Linked DNA regions of Homo sapiens: region 1 is linked to region 2. The links are contacts of gene promoters, found by promoter capture Hi-C in human tissues and cell types (Jung and others, 2019). All regions are on one chromosome and are shown on one strand. The core of a region is centred on a gene start or on the middle of the fragment in contact, and the rest is flanking DNA. Distances in the headings are between cores, read along the strand shown. Region 1 overlaps CTNND2 (catenin delta 2). Region 2 holds the start of CTNND2 (catenin delta 2).

The links. The method cuts DNA at HindIII sites, captures the fragments that hold promoters and counts their contacts. A contact is called where the count stands out against the background at its distance.
Region 1: a fragment that was not itself captured here is called in contact with the fragment with the promoter of CTNND2 in region 2 in 1 of the 25 tissues and cell types used here (pancreas).

What each region holds. Positions count from the first base shown.
Region 1 is chr5:11,866,136-11,870,162 of GRCh38, forward strand. All of the region lies in intron 1 of CTNND2 (catenin delta 2), which reads right to left. Among named protein-coding and RNA genes, the nearest start is that of CTNND2, 36 kb to the right of the region's middle. The HindIII fragment of the contact is 6,917 bases long and covers 1-4,027 here.
Region 2 is chr5:11,901,592-11,905,807 of GRCh38, forward strand. It overlaps CTNND2 (catenin delta 2), which reads right to left and starts at 2,855. Exons shown (of 22, transcript NM_001332.4): 1 at 2,226-2,855. The coding sequence starts at 2,262. The HindIII fragment of the contact is 17,473 bases long and covers 1-4,216 here.

The DNA of each region.
Region 1 (4,027 bases), core at 994-3,493, 36 kb before region 2:
CTACAAAAAATTTAAAAGTTAGCCAGGTGCAGTGGCATATGCCTATAAACCTAGCTACTCGGGAGGCTGAGGTGGGAGGATTGCTTGAGCCCAGGAGTTTAAAGCTGTAGTGAGCTATGATTTTGCCACTGCACTCCAGCCAGGATGATAACGCCAGACGTTGTCTCTAAAAAAACCTTTAAGAAAATGCATTTGTGATGTTTTAGGCCATGAAATTTATGGTGATTTGTTATAGCAGCATCAGAAAATGAATGCAGTCAGGTATAACCAATGCATCATGTGAGGACACAGGACTTGGTTAAGAGGAAGCCTGAGCAGGATGTTCAAATCTCAGTTGCCCTATAAATGGAAGTATGGGCCAAGGTTAACCATCTACAAAAATTAGGAGGTCCCCACTGACAGCTCTGACACAGGAAATTTAAAAACAAATACATTTCAGAGACTGGGAGAACTGAAGGAGATTTTGTACCTAAAGTGTGCAGCACAGTGCCTGGCACATCCTACGTGCTAAATGTTTTTCGTGGATCTCCTACTGCATTTTTCCTACAAACAGAAAAGCTTTTGCCACAATGTAATCACCTTTCCCATGTTGTCCTAATAACAAACTACACTACTGCTCATGCAAAATAACGCACAGGGAGAAAGAGAAATCACATGCCATTAGGCTTCTCTTGGAATTCTTCGCGTGATCAATAATGGCATTCTCTTCTGTGTGGTCCCAATCAATACATGATTCTAGTTATCATGAACTCACTCCAAGACACTGCCTCCCTGACACCTTATCACGAGCAGTAGATAAGCTGTAACAATTTTTCTAGATATCTGCAAGCACATCTATCACTGTGACAAATGCATGATGTGGCATTATATCTTCTCTTCTTAGCCTTGTTTTAATATCACAAGTCTGTATTTAATACCACAAGGTTCTGATCCAAGCTCACATTTTAACGCTTTCTGGACTGCCAATGCATAATGACCTTTCTTGACTATCCAGCTGGTTGGCTGGTACAAAATACTGTGAAGCCAGGGACAGTTTCAACAAGCCGAGTTATTCCAGAGAAGGATGAACTTGCTAGAGGCTGTGGTACTAATTTTATTGCATGTTAATTCTAGCCAGGAAAATTGCCCTTTGCTCAGACTTTGCACTGATTTCAGAGAAAAGTCCAATAATTATTTGAGGCAAGAAATAATGGCTGTTTTTGTTTTTACTTGGGGGAAGAAAATACAAAATCACAGAAAACATTACAGGCAAGGAATAACATCTCAGATTATTATAATCAGCCAATCAGAACTTTAACGAGCTGTTTAAGATTTTCTCTCTCTTCCACATGGAGATGTCAGTTCTGTTTCATTAACAGGATACTCAGTCACATTGGCAGAAAATCCTGTGGCTACTGTTTGAGAATGAGTGATCATTATTTTTAGAATTATTGTGTATTAGACCAGAAAGTAACTCAAAAGACCCACCAGTTTTGCCATTAGTTATAGATACTGAGACCATTCATTCATTCATTCATTCATTCAATAATATCTATGCTCTATAAAGCCTGTGCTGGTCTCAACTAGTCAAAGACACTGACCCTAAATCACCCAGCAAATCAGTGATAAAGCTGTGATTCCAAGCCAAGAACTTTGGCAGATCACTGTAATCAATACACCTAGTAAAACACCAACTTACACTGTGACTTCATTAAAATAATGTACTATTTATAAATTGTAAGAATTTATGAAAAACAGAAACAGTGTAAGCAGCGCTGGACATCTAGAATGCCTCACTGTTTTATGATCTAAGGCACATCAGATTGTTTTTCCCAATTATCATGGAGCTAGTTCCCTACACTTCACCTCAGTGCTCTTTTGTCAACCAAGATAAACCCCTGATGGCGAAGCAGGGGCAGGATAGACAGAGTCCCCAGGTGGAGTACTAGAACTAACACTTACCATTATGTGTGACCTCTGACAGGTCACTTCACCTGCAGGCACAGCTAGAGCAAGCAGTGACGCATGCGCAGGGGTGTCCCTTGCCTCCAATGCAGCCACCATCCCAGCTGTGGTGCTGAGGATCACACTAGCCCCAACTAAGACCTGCGGCTGGACTCCTGCCTCTGCTCTGTCAGGACAGTCTTTGGGTGCTCCAGGGTGGTGATTGGGGTGTGAATTCCACCATAGGGCAGTCTGATGTGGGAAACACTAATGACAGACCCAAGCTACCAGTTTGAACATCATCTTACCTTCAAAAGAGGTATGAAACCCACTGAAAGTAAATTAATCAAACTAATGATCTTTGGTGTTAAATGACTGAATATTCAGAATCAAGGGGATCATGGAGTTTGCCTGCTCTTTAAAAGTATCCAACTCAACAAGAAGAAGAAAATGCAAAAGGAGCAAATGACTTGAATAGACATTACTCCTAAGAAGATTGCTATCGTTTCAATATTTGTCCCCTCCAAAATGCACGTTGAAACTTAATCCTCAATGTGGCAGTACTGAGAGATAGGGCCTTTAAGAGGTAATTGGATCATGAGGGATCTAAGTTCATGAATAAATTTATTCATTAATAGATTAATGAGTTACCATGGGAGTGGGACTGATGGCTTTGTAAGAAGAGGAAAAAAGACCTGAGCTAGCGTGCTCAGCCCTCTTGCCATGTGAGGCCCTCCACAGCCTTGGGACCATGCAGAGTCTCCAGCAGCAAGAAGGTATTCACAAGATACGGCCCCTGGACCTTAGACTTCTCAGCCTCAATAAATGTAAGAAATACATTCCCTTTATTTATAAATTAGCCAGTTTTACATTTTTGGTTATAAGCAACCGAACACAGACAAGACAAAGACACCCAAATGGCCAATATGCACAAGAAAAAACACCCAACATCAACAGTCATTAGGGAAGCACAAATCAAAATTAGAGTATACCACTTCATATCCATTAGAATGGCCATACTTTAAAACATGGAAAATACGTGTTGGTGAAAATGTGGACAAACTGGAACCCTCATGCATTGCTAACAGGCATGTGAAATGGTACAGTCTATTCACTCAAAACAGGTAAACACAGAATTGCCATATGATGCACCAACCCCACTCTTAGGTATATACCCAAAAGAACTGAAAACAAAGACTCAGATACTTGCACACCAATGTTCACAGCAGCATTATTCACAATTGCCAAAAGGTGAAAGCAACTCGAATGTCAATTGATGGATGAATGGGCAAACAACATGTGGTTTATTCATACAATGGAATATTATTCTGACATAAGAAGGTGCCAACTTCTGACACATGCCACAACATGGATTAACCTTGAAAGTATCATGCTGAGTGAAATAAGCCTGATACAAAAGGTCAAATAATATGTGATTCCACCTATATGAAGTACCAAGAATAGCCAAATTCATAAAGACAGGAAGTAGACTGATGTTGGCTATGGGCTGCAAGAATGGAAAGATGGAGAATTACTGTTTAATTGGTACAGAGCTGCTATTCGAAATAATGCAAAAGTTCTGGAAATGATAATGACGGTTGCACAGCATCATCAGTGTATATAATGCCACTTACTTCTATACTTAAAAACGGCTAAGGTGGTAAATTTTATGTATGCTTTAATGCAATAAAAACAGATCTATTTTTCAAAAGTATTTTGTCCAAGAGGTACACTAGAAGGTGAGGAGACAAGTCAATTTAGTCCAAATATGTGTATTTCCTTTTCCTGTGCCAGAAGGGGGTCACTAAGGTGTTAGGAACAAAATGCAAAAAAATAAGGAAGCAAGAAATATTCTAATTCCCCTGACACAACCGTAATTGGTAGCAGGATGAAAATCTCAAAATGTCTGCACCTTGAGAATATTAGAGAGGCCTTGAAGAAGCATGAAACCACCCGGCAAATACTTACACATAGACTGATTTAGAGTGGAAAAATGGTCATATTGCATCCACTACCACAATGCCTAGCAAAAGAGCCCAATGGAGAAAATCAAAAGGGAGAATATAGCACTGCGATAGGGGTTGGGTCCACGGAAAGCCTCTGC
Region 2 (4,216 bases), core at 1,605-4,104:
ATGACTGGGTTATACAACTACACAAACGTACACCAAATTAAATAACTCCTTTCCGCAAGACTATGACAATTTTATTAGGGCAACAACCTCACGTACTTACCACAATTGCCATTCAATCAGATAATATCATTTTCAATCCACAATATAACATAAAACCCACATATACAGTATATGTAGTTTTTCACATGCCCATCGGCCGCTCTGGGTACACACACAGGCACAGAGCAGTATCAACTAGTCCTTTAAAAATCATGTTTAAGAATGAAACACTAGGCTCAAAAGGAAAAAAGAAAAGGAAACGAGACATGTATGCTACTTCATCTATTGCTTTTGAAAGAAATTTTATATTAAAACAATGCAGTGGGCATAACGGTGTGTTCAAAGTGCTCTCGGAAAGTTCCCTGAATGTGAATAAGGTGAAACTAAAGCAATATTGCTAAAGACTAATCACAGTATTCAATCAACTTGAGCCGTATAGACCTTGCCAGTCCTCCTGCAACACTGACTTGTGATTAGTGTAATCAAAGGCCTCCCAAATTTCAACACTTAACTCCGAATGTAATCGTCTTCCTTCAAGCCCTGAGCCCTTGGAACCCACAGATCAGTAATGATGCCACTTAACATTTTTCCCCAACAACAGTAGGAACATTCTCCGTATGGCAACCATATGCTAATAAAAGACATTTGAGGGCAGTTTAAAGCATCTAGTTCGTATTTGAGGATACTCGCCCCTATATATCACACGTCTCGTAGCAGAAATCCCCAAAATAATGACAGGTTCACCGCCATAACTTGATATGAGTCACAGCAAACACTTCTCCATGGGATTTTAGAAGTGGTGCAGCCCCGAAGCCTTGTCATTATGTAGGTGAATGACCAGCAGCAGAGACCAGCTGGACTGCCCTCGGTAGCTTCAGCCCCTGATGAAGTATGCACAATGAGATAACTCCTAGGGAGTTTCAGCACCTCCTTGTTTTCATGGAAGTCACTGCAGAAAATCCCAAGACTCTTAAATATTGGTCACATAGTTCTTAAAAGTGAAAATTTACACCTGTCAGGCCTAATACTATGCTGACAACATTCTCTGTTTTCTAAATCAACATATTTGCTTGAGCACAGTAAAAATACATCTTAATAACACCTGCCAGAGCTAAGGCGAATCAGATCAGCTCAAATGAGGCACACAAGAAAAGAAAAGAAAAAAAAACACCTTGGAAACACAACCTGCCCCTCTATCTCTCATCTCCCACACCCTTCATACCCCCACGGTTACAGCAAAATACAACTTTGGGCATTTTGGAAGTAACTGTTATTTGTGACACACACACACACACCCCAAAAATTCCCAAGTCTGTTTTCCTACCACAAACACCAGGGAGGCTGCATCACCTTTCTAGTGACTTAATTCTGAAAGCAGAGGCTCAACCTGCCGAGTGGCAATCGAAGAAAACACACTACACACCAGAATAAGATGAGGGTCGGGAAAAAAAGAAAAAAGCAGCTTCGCTTTCAGCCATTAATTACGGATCACCCCAATTTTGCATCGCTCATCTCCCATACACACGCACAGCCTTCCAAACCTGGCTTTCAGGCGGCGCTTTCTGGAGCCTGGCTGTCTATTGTCAGCACGCAGAAGCCCCCGAAACCTGTGAAGCCGGCTGCAAAGGCTTGCTGGGAAGCCGCTAAATATAGACCAAGGGGGCTCAGGGTCTGGCAAGCCGCGGGAGCCTGAAGACACGGCCATGGACGCATATGACTAAGTCTTTCCATTTTGTTCTAGCCAAACATCGTAATGACATTGAACATAAGGGCAAAAGACTGGAGGGAAGTCCTCCCCACCCCCACCCCGTCTCCTCCCGTATATTAGGGACGTCATGAATGCACCGAGTATGTTCTCAGGGTGGCGGGGAGCAGCATTGTCGGTGTTGCCCTAAATACGCTTCCTCCCGGGGAGATGGGTGGCAGGGAGGGGGAGCACGCAGGGCAGCCACTTGGTAACCGCTCCAAGAAAGGCACTAACCCCGGACCCCCTTCCAGGCACAGCGGCTTCCGAGGGGGACCTGGCGCGATCGCGGTCCTCCCCGAGGCAGGCAGAAACCCCGCAGCAGCCGCCGCCGCCGCCTGCCGGCCGGGAGCCCAGGACCACCCCCACCAGCGGCAAGAGGAGGAGGACGGCGCCGGGAGGAGGCTGCGCCCGGCCCCGGCCGCCCAGCCCCGCAACTCACCCAAAGGCGCGGCGCCCGGCGGCTTCCTCGCAAACATGCACCCTCCGCCGGCGACAGCTCCTCAGTCCGGGAAGAGGCGTGCGCGGCGCCGCCCGGCTTCAGGGCAAGGTCCTGACCTTGCCCAACTGCAGCATCTTCCGCTTTTGTTGTCTGAGCGCGGCCGCGGGACAAGGGATGCTGGCGGGCGGCAGGGGCGAGCGCCGCGGGCGAGAGGCGGCTCCCGACGCGAGTGCGCAGCGCCCGGCCCGGCGGCCCCTCCGAGCTCGGCGAGCGCAGCGCCCCCTGCCCGGCTCCGCGGGCTCCACGGGCTCCTGCGGGCTCCTCGGGGCTCCGGGCGCCGCCGCCAGCCGGCCGGGCTGAGAGAGCAGCCGCCGCGCCCGCAGCTCCGCTCAGCCGGCTGTCGCCGCGGGCGCGAGCCTGGGGCCGCCGCGGCGCCCGGCGCCGAGCGCTCCCGAGCTGCGCCCCGCGCGCGGCCCGCGCCACCTGTGCCGCCGCCGCCTCAGCCGCCGAGGGCGAGGCTCCTCCCGCGGCGCGCGGCAGCCTCAGCCTCCACCTAAACCTCGGCGGCCGGCCCGGGCGCCCGGCTAGTGAGGGAGCGTCCGCCCCGCCGCCGAAACCGGCCCCGGGTGCGGAGCATGCCCAGTGCCGCCGCGAGAGCGGCGCTTCGCCGCGCGCGTTCCACTTCTCCTGGTTTTCGCGGCAGCAGCGGCAGCCGCGGGAGAGAGGGGAGGAGGCCGCGGGTTGGGAGAGGGCCGAGCATCCTTGGGAACGCACGCCCTGGACCTGAGATGGGTGGATGCTCCGGAGCTAGGCGAAAGCTGGAAGGGACCCGGGAAGGGATGGAACCCCAGGTTACTCCGCTTCCCTAATTCACGTGCAAGGCGCTGACAGTTGACTCTGGTGGGGCAGATGTCAGCCTGCAACAAAGGACCAGGGTGCGAGGGGTCCTAGAGTGGCCAGGTGGGTTGGGGGAGGGAGGCTGGCGGAACGTGCTGGTGAGCGCAGGTAGATGCTCTTGCAGATCCTGTGATTCCAGAGCTAAGGAGGCACGAAGTCCAGCAGAGGTCTTCTCCACAGCACCTGCCCAATCTTGCCATCACCTTCCCTGTTCAGATGGCATGTTTTTGGCGGGTAGTGAGGGTTTCTCCTTAGGCAAAATCACTTCAGATTTGAAACTGGAATGTCTGTAAACTTCCTGCAAGAAAGACCCTTGCCCAGTCTGGAACTTGAGCAGATTAAGTTCTCTCTCCTCCCCTTCTTGTGCCACCTTGTCCTCCTCTCTTGGTATCTTCTGCTGCATCTCTGCCACCTTCTCTTCCTCCTTTTCTTCCTTATTTCAAAGTGAACCACTCCCCTGATCCTTCCCCACAGTCTTCCAGTGCATCTCGCATTGCCTTCTTCACGTTCAAATCAGTTTTCCATATCACCTCCTGGCTTGACTGCTCCTTGACCCCATCGGGACTTCCCCATGCGTAGCCTGCTGTGAAATACAGCAAGTGGAATCACCGTATTCAAAGTCTTGTTGAAAAACGAAACCCAAAACATGTGCCAAGGAAGGCCTCTGGGCCTTCGCCCCTGTCCCTCTGATTCAGCAGCAGTCAGGACGGGGCTCACGTCTGCTGCATTCACAAGCCAAGCCAAGCAGGGCACAGCCTGCCCAGGGGCCAGGTCGAATGTTCCTCCTAATTATGCCACGGGCATGACCCTGAACACCGCAGACTGTCTGAGGTTGTGATCTCCTCCACCCCCCCCACCCCCCCCACCCCCGCAGAGCTTGTTTCTGAAACACAAATAAGCATGACAGAATGCAGGAAATTGTAATAAAAGGGATTTGGTGCTTACGATTCTCAGTAACATTGTGCTTCTATTTTGTGTTGAAAGAGATTATCCAACAAACTTAAATGATTTGAATATTCAAGTCTATTCTTTATTATACTTGGGAGTAAGTTGAAATATAAATGGAAGTAAGAGTGAAGGAGAAAAGCGGTACA